Linked DNA regions of Homo sapiens: region 2 is linked to region 1. The links are contacts of gene promoters, found by promoter capture Hi-C in blood cells and fetal thymus (Javierre and others, 2016). All regions are on one chromosome and are shown on one strand. The core of a region is centred on a gene start or on the middle of the fragment in contact, and the rest is flanking DNA. Distances in the headings are between cores, read along the strand shown.

Region 1 (4,230 bases), core at 1,090-3,589:
AGGAGTATTAACAAATCTTTGAGTAGATGGGTATTTAGAAGGCTCTGGGAAATTGAACCTCTTTAGGAAACAGACTGGAAGTCAATAAAATACATCTGCACATCTGCAAGCAGCAAGAACAAATACCTGTAGTTTGCTCAATTTTAAAATGTGATTTGTGTGCGCCACTGGAGGTTTGGTATCAACAGTAGGCTTCGCTAGAGAAGGGGGATAAAAGGGAACAATGTTACATCACAGGAATTCCAGTAGCGGCCTCAGAAAACCAGCACTAGACAATGTCCTTGACTAATGAACAATTTCGAATTAGGACCTTAATGCGACTCAAGAAGTTTGGTTTGATTTATCAAATGAACATCTCTGGAGAGTTTTGAGCAGAAACAAAAGAATAGTGAAAATAAAATTTACAGAGATAAATGTCCTTCTAATCCAATGAAAGAGCTTCTCTTCCAATCTTTTTCCAATATTATTAGCCTGTCTATTGGCTTCTGAAGTCTTATCCCCTTTCTAACGTACTTCGGCTTTAAGGAGTTTAAAGGAGTATTTCCATCCAGTGAACTCCCTGGTGGAAGATACATTTTGTTATTGGTGCTAATGCCCTCTTCCCCAAACTCAGCAGATAAGGCCATATCATCCCAAAGCTGTGACCTGGTCTGGTTTCCTGTTGATCTCTTTATGGGGTACCATTCCAAAATCCCTAATAGCAGTGTCCAGCCCAAACTGCCCACATACCTATTTGTATTCTATTCTTGTGAGATACGTAGTGGCCAAAGTCCAGTTTCTTTCTGAAGGTTGTGCTTTGCCTGTGATTAGAGACGATAACAGGGTAGGCCAGATAATCCAGGGAATTGTTCATCTTCTCTTCCTAGTCTCACTTCAGAAATGAGGTACCCAGACTCCTCTGTGAGGTGCCTAGCTGTCCCCATGACAAGCTGTCATAGTTACCCAGTTATGACATCAGGGACAGGTCCCGGGAAGGGAGTAGGAGCAGCAGAGCATGGCTGGCTGCCTCTGGGCTTGTGTTTTTAATGCTAACCTCGGCTCAAGTCAAGATGAAGGTCAAGGAACTCGAAAGCTTTCCCCGCTGCTTAGAATGCAGATGCTGCCAGCCAACACCAGAAGGAAAGAAGTGGTGCACCGGGAGGGGTGGGCAGGCACGGGGTGGGGTGAGGGATACAGAAATTCCAGCCTTGGTTACACATCTTGGGCTATCAGCTAAGTAGTCTCCACTGCAATAGCTCCCCTGAAGGTGCAAGACCACAAGTTTTGGAGGAGGAGAAAGTTGACCCTAATGATAATCGGATCCAATTCCTTTTGCAAATGAGGAAACTGAAGACCACAGCAGCAGCAACGTTACTCAAGAACCAAGTTGGTGGCAGGGCTGGGCTCAGGATGTGGGGTTCCTGAATTCAAGGCCAAATTTGCCCTTTTGCAGGAAGGAAACTGCCAGTTTTTCATGGCAGTAGGGGAGGGCAGCTTTCCTCCAGTACAGAGACTATCTTTTGTACTTAGTGGGAGTTCAGGAAATGCTGAGTGGCTTATGGTGGGCTGGCATCTGCTCCAGGAAGGGCTGCAGGAGTCTGATTTATCTCCACCCCAGCACAGGGTATAGCACCCACTGGGTGCTCAACGCATTTGTTGATGAAGGACTAACACCTATTGAGTGCTCGCCATGCAGTGCTGGGTGCCTTCTTTGAATGTCACATTTAACCCTTCCAGCAACCCTAGAATTAGGTACCATTACTATCCCGCTTTTTTTTTTTTTCCCTGCAAACAGGCTCAGGTTAAGTAATTCCTCAGAATTCCAAACCTGACTGCTTTTAAGCACGACGATGACTCTCAATGAATGTTGAAAGCAGATGCGCCCCAGAGTAGGGCTTCTCAGACTTTGACCGTAGGGACCTCCTGGGGTCCGTAAAATGTCCACTCTGATCCAGCAGGGCTGGGCTGGGGCGGGGATTCTGTCAAGCGCCCGGGTGGTGCCTCCACTGCAGGGAGCCGCTCACGAGCCGAACCCGGCGGTCCCTGTAATCATGAAAGACTGAAGCGACCCCTAGGTGTACCTCCGCCACGAAATGTTTATTGGGCCCTGCATTTAATTCAGGGAAGGAAGTTACCGCGCTTGCCAGTTTACAAAGATACACAAACGGCCTGGACCGGGATGGGGCGAGGACCCCTGAGACTCCAGGGCGGTGGCGTCTTCCCCCCGGGACGCGCCCAGGAGTGGCGCGCGGGGCCCCCGCGTCACGGCGCCCGCGCTCCGCAGCTCCCGGAGCCCGGCGGGCCCGCCCCAGGGGCGGGACGGGGCGGCTCCCGGCGCGAGCCCCCGCCCAGCTGATCCGCCGCTCTCCGCCTCGCTTGCTCCTGCCGGGCGTGCAGGGCCCCGCCGCCGCCATGTCGGGCTCGTTCGAGCTCTCGGTGCAGGATCTCAACGACCTGCTCTCGGACGGCAGCGGCTGCTACAGCCTCCCGAGCCAGCCCTGCAACGAGGTCACCCCGCGGATCTACGTGGGCAACGCGTGAGTCCCTTTCGCGAGCCCGGCCCCGCCGTCCCTCTCGGGACGCCCCGCCCACCCGAGGCTGGGGTCGGGGTGTCGCGAGTCTTGGGTTGGGGGAGCCCGGGCGCGATGGCCCCTCCGGGAGCCACAGCGGGGGCTTGGGAGGGGCCTGGAGTCGACGCCTACCCCCGCGCGTGGGGCCAAGGAACTGGAACCCTGCCTGGCCGGGCGCGGCCCTTCCCCGTGGCGGGGTGCACGGAGCCCGGGTGGCGCCTGCCCGGGTCCCAGCCGCCACCCGCTTGGGGCTTGGCCTTGGGCGGGGTCGGGGCTACCATGTTCACTTAACAGGTGACCCTCGGTCGCCCGGCCGGTCTCCTGCCCGCGCGTCATGTGACAGCTGCCTGGTTCTGCAGTGAGGTCACCGCGGAATGTCTGCCTTCGCCGCCATGGCAACGGGCCGACGTCACAATTCGGGCATGGAATTTTCCCGGCCCGGCAGTCCCGGATCAGGGAACCTAAACACCCCAAATGAGCGAGTCCGGGGAGCTGGGCCGGGATTTCCAGGCCCCCACCTTCCAGATGTGATTTGATTTACAGGAGATTCTAGAACGGTCCAGTGATAACCCCCCTAAGGACCTGAGCCACCACCTAGAAAAGGCTCTTGACCTTTCACCCCCAGGCTCTGTCACCCAGGCTGGAGTGCAATGGCGAGATCTCGGCTCACTGCAACCTCTGCCTCCTGGGTTCAAGCAATTCTCCTGCCTCAGCCTCCCGAGTAGCTGGGATTACAGGCGCCCGCCACCACGCCTGGCTACTTTTTGTATTTTTAGTAGAGACGGGGTTTCACCATATTGGCCAGGCTGGTCTCTTGGCCAGGCTGGTCTCAAACTCCTGACCTCATGATCCGCCCACCTCGGCCTCCAAAAGTGCTGGGATTACAGGCGTGAGCCACCGCACCCGGACAGTAAGAGATTTTTTTTAATTTAAATTTTAAATTTTTTTTCTAGTAAGAATGTCTAATCAGCAGGAAAGAACCAGTGTTAACATTCTGAGATGTGAAATAGGAGCCTCAAGAAAGAATATATTAGCATGCCTGTACAGCCTTGGAAAGCCTCAAGTTGGATTTTCACGATACTCTGAGGACCCAGTTACCAAAATCCTAAGCTTCATGGCTCAGCCCAAGGATGGCATGTTGAAAACTCAAAACTAACCCTCCTCCCATTTTACAGAGGAGGAAATGGTGGCTCAGAGTGTGTGAGGGACTACAAGGACAGGGTCAATGTCTTGTTCATGTATGTATTTCCTGACCTCCGCTATGACCTGCTGTTTAGCCTGCCAAGGACTGCCACGGAAATGGGGGTCATCATGGAACTAGAAGGGGTCCATCAGGCCCCAGCCTCATGGGGACAGTTCTCATCCATTCCATCATTCATTCACCAGTCTGAGCACCTGCTTTATGTCAGGCACTGTACAATGTTCATTCATAGTAGAGATAGTAATAATGATAATTGTAAATTTTTTGAATGTTGAATTATTAATAGTATTAGAGGCCTGGCACGATGGCTCACGCCTGTAATCCCAGCACTTTGGGAGGCCGAGGCGGGTGGGTCACCTGAGGTCAGCAGTTCGAGACCAGCCTGACCAACATGGTGAAACCCTGTCTCTACTAAAAATACAAAAATTAGCTGGGCATGGTGCCTGGCGCCTGTGATCCCAGCTACTCCGGAGGCTGAGG
Region 2 (4,230 bases), core at 774-3,273, 270 kb after region 1:
GCCTTTGCTTCTGGTATTTTTCGAGCGACTCCACTATCTACTTACCTCTTGGCCTAAGCAACAACCAAACTCCTCTGACACTCTTTTGGCCACCGACATAGCTGCCACTCTTCTGGGCTGGGTACACCCAATCTTGCCCCTGGAAGTGTAGCCTGCCTCCGCCAGGTACTGGGTGATCTGTGTTGTCTTTCCAGATCCTGTCTCACCAATGACAATCAGGATCTGATTGTCATGGACGGCCTGAAAGCAACAGAATATAAATATGGTCATTAAAATCTGCCAGAATATAAATATGGTCATTAAACAGAATATAAATATGGTCATTAAAATCTACATTACTCTGGAATAAAATAATTACTATATTCTAACACCAAAGAAAAGAGGAATATACACATATAGTTAAAGAAGTCAACAATGAATTTAAAAGATACATAAAAAATGTTCCTTCCCACTGTAACTCCCAAATTTCTATATCTTTCCCCAAAAGTTATTTCTTATTTCTACGTTGTTTGTAACAGCCAAGGATTACAATCAACGATGTTTCTATGGATATAGGACTAGTTAAATAAACCAGAGCCTATCCAAATAATACAGCCCATAAAAAAAGGCTTTTTTTTTTTTTTTGAGATGAAGTCTCACTCTGTCGCCCATGCTGGAGTGCAGTGGCATGATCTCAGCTCATTGCAACCTCCACCTTCCGGATTCAAGTGATTCTCCTGCCTCAGCCTCCCAAGTAGCTGGGACTGCAAGTGCCCGCCAGCACGCCCGGCTAATTTTTGTACTTTTAGTAGAGACAGGGTTTCACCATGTTGGCCAGGCTGGTCTCGAACTCCTGACCTCAGGTGATCCGCCCGCCTTGGCCTCCCAAAGTATTGGGATTACAGGTGTGAGCCACTGTGCCTGGCCTGGCAATTTTTTTTGTTTGTTTGTTTAAGAAGGCCAGGCACAGTGGCTCATGCCTGTAATCCTAGCACTTTGGGAGGCCAAGGAGGGAGGATTGCTTGAGTCCAGGAGTTCAAGACCAGCCTGGACAATATAGTGAGACCGCATCTCTACAAAAAATACAAAAAACTAGCTGAGCATGATGGTGTATGCCTTGTAGTCCCATCTACTTGGGAGTCTGAGGTGGGAAGATCACTTGAGCCCAGGAGGTAGAGGTTGCAGTGAGCTGAGATCAAGCCACTGTACTCCAGCCTGCACAAAGCGAGACTCTGTCACACACACATACACACACACACACACAAATCTCTGAGATATATCATTAAGTGGAAAAAGATGTAGAACAGTGTATATAATATCACTGCCACCTGTAAACACACACAGTACTCATATAAAATGTGTGTGCGTGTGTGTGCATATATTTGTACTTGCTTGTATACATATAAGATATTGTTGAAAGGATTCACTAGAAACTAGTAAACCTGATTACCTCAAGGAAGACTCGGTGGTCTTAAAATCAGAACTCCAGAATATAGAGTACCGAAGCACTCTATGAGTTGCCCATATGAGTTTATTGACTGAGTATCCTCATTTTTAATTACTGAACAGAGCTGTTGGTCCATGCAACACAATACTCTGCCCACTTGGAAACTGTTCTAGGGGCCCCAGGAAAAAGAAGATATACAGACACATACATAAGTATGTGTGTCTGTACACGCACACACAAACATTTGTGATATGGGGTCTCACTTGGTCGCCCAGGCTGGAGTGCAGTGGTGTGATTGCAGTTCACTGTAGCCGCGACCTCTCAGGCTCAAGCAATCCTCTTATCTCAGCCTCCCGAGTAGCTGGGATTACAGGCATGGACCACCACACCCAGGTAATTTTTTTTTTTTTAGACAGAGTCTCTCTCTGTAGCCAGGCTGGAGTGCAGCGGCGTGATCTTGACTCACTGCAACCTCCGACTCCCTGATTCAAGCGATTCTCCTGCCTCAGACTCCAGAGTAGCTGGGATTATAGGCATGCGCCACCACGCCCAGCTAATTTTTTGTATTTTTAGTAGAGACAAGGTTTCACCGTGTTGGCCAGGATGGTCTCGAACTCCTGAACTTGTGATCCGCCCACCTTTGCCTCCCAAAGTGCCGGATTACAGGTGTGGGCCACCACGCCCCACCAAATTTTTTATTTTTTGTAGAGACAAGATTCCCTATGTTGCCTCAGGCTGGTTTCAAACTCCTAGGCTCAAGTGATCCTCCTGCCTTGGCCTCTGATGTGCTGGGATTATAGGCATCCACTACCGCGCCCAGCCCCATTTAAAAAAAAAGTATTTAGAAAGTTTTATCCTTCTTTCTTAACTCTTTTGGATGAGCCACTTCAAGTAGGCACATACTTGTCCCGTTAGTTTCAGTTTAAAAATATCACCCCTCTTTTAGACAATAACCCTACTCCCCACCAATACATCATAAAAGTCTTCTCACCTGGACCAATTGCTCCTTCAGTTTGTAGATGGGCAGGCTCTCCCTCTGCTCAAGGATTGACATCTGGGTCTTTTTTCCGTAAGAGGCTTTGTTGCCCCCAAAGGCATGCTTCTTCCACTCAGGAATATCATTGGGCATCATCCCAATACCCCTCATGTTGGCAGCAATCTGTCTGCCTTCCGCTGGAAAGGAAAACAGGCAACTTAGTATTGTCCTCAAGCTACCTCAAGATGTACCAGGAAAAAAATAAAATGGCATGCGGGCACTGCACATGCAGCATCTCAATTCAGCGACCCGTGATCAAAAGTACTCAAAGAAACAAATTAATGTGAAGAAAAGAATATAGAAGGGGCAGCAGGGAATGGGAAAGAGACTGTAACAAGTGGTGCTACACACCTGTGATGTCAGAAAAAAGGTTAGTTGAGAGAAGTGAAGACCTGACTGCTTGACACTGGAATTATTTTTTTTTAGGTAGGGTCTTGCTCTGTCATCCAAGTGGGAGTGCAGTGGTGCAATCCTGACTCACTGCAGCCCCGACCTTCTGGGCTCAAGCGAGAAGAGGTCACTCTATGTTGCCAGGCTGGTCTCGAACTCCTGGGCTAAAGCAATCCACCCATCTCACCCTCCCAAAGTAATGGAATTACAGGTATGGCCACCATGCGCAGCACTCTCCCCTTTTTAAATAACTGCTATATCGAGATGTAATTCACAAACCATGTTACACTTTTTTTATTTTATTTTATTTTTTTGAGACAGGGTCTTGCTCTGTTTCCCAGGCTGGAGTGCAGTGACGCAATCACGGCTCACTGCAGCCTCAAATTCCTGGGTTCAAGGAATCCTCTCTCCTTGGCCTCCCAAAGTGCTGGGATTACAGGTATGAGCCACCAAGCCAGGTCTCCGTGTTACTCTTTTTAAGTGTTTAACTCAGTGTTTTACTGTATATTCATTAAGTTGTGCAACTATCCCCACTATTTAGAGTATTTTCATCATATCAGAAAGAAACCCTGTACCCATTAGCAGTTACTCCCCATTCCTCCCTTTTCCTTTCCCTTGGCAACCATTAGTCTACTTTCTATGTCTACGGGTTCTATTCTGGATACTTCATACAATATGTGGTCTGTTGTGCCTGGTTTCTCTCAGATTAATTTTTTTCTTTTTCTGAGACAGGGTCTGGCTCAGACGCCCAGCAGGCTGGAGTGCAGTGGCGAGATCTCAGCTCAGCAACCTCCACCTCCTGGGCTCAAGCAATCCTCCCACGTTAGCCTCCTGAGTAGCTGGGAATACAGGTGCACGTGATTACACACGGCTAAACTTTTTTTTTTTTTTTTTAGATGGAGTTTCGCAATTGTTGTCCAGGCTGGAGTGCAATGGCGTGATCTCGGCTCACTGCAACCTCCGCCTCCCAGGTTCAAGTGATTCTCTTGCCTCAGCCTCCCTAGCAGCTGGGATTACAGGTGCGTGCCACCACATCTGTTAATTTTTCTGTTTTTAGCACAGATGGGGTTTCACTATGTTGGCTAGGCTGGTCTCAAACTCCTGACCTCAGGTGATCCACCCGCCTCAGCCTCCCAAACTGCTGGGATTACAGGCATGAGCCACCATGCCTGGACTAATTTTTGTATTTTTTTAGAGACAGGGTTTCACCACATTGCCCAGCTTGGTTTCAAATTCCCCAACTCAAGTGATCTGTCTGCCTCAGCCTCCCAAAGTGCTGGGATTACAGGTGTGAGCCACCTTGCCCAGACCTAGCTTATATTTTCAAGATTCACCTTGGAATTGTGGCTTGAGGAGCAAAAAAAAATGAGCAGAATTT

Evidence for each region. Contacts are between HindIII fragments. The CHiCAGO score rates a contact against its expected background, and 5 or more counts as called.
Region 2: a fragment that was not itself captured here is called in contact with the fragment with the promoter of DUSP3 in region 1 in 1 of 17 cell types (endothelial precursors); the score reaches 7.4 in endothelial precursors.

The regions. Positions count from the first base shown.
Region 1 is chr17:43,777,086-43,781,315 of GRCh38, reverse strand. It overlaps DUSP3 (dual specificity phosphatase 3), which reads left to right and starts at 2,339. Exons shown (of 3, transcript NM_004090.4): 1 at 2,339-2,516. The coding sequence starts at 2,392. It overlaps CFAP97D1 (CFAP97 domain containing 1), which reads right to left and starts at 881. Exons shown (of 6, transcript NM_001136483.3): 1 at 730-881; 2 at 127-197. The coding sequence starts at 853. RefSeq lists a silencer at 2,159-2,848 and an enhancer at 2,781-3,075. The HindIII fragment of the contact is 2,587 bases long and covers 1,075-3,661 here.
Region 2 is chr17:43,503,013-43,507,242 of GRCh38, reverse strand. It overlaps DHX8 (DEAH-box helicase 8), which reads right to left. Exons shown (of 23, transcript NM_004941.3): 12 at 2,418-2,599; 13 at 46-240. Among named protein-coding and RNA genes, the nearest start is that of DHX8, 21 kb to the right of the region's middle. The HindIII fragment of the contact is 6,640 bases long and covers 1-4,230 here.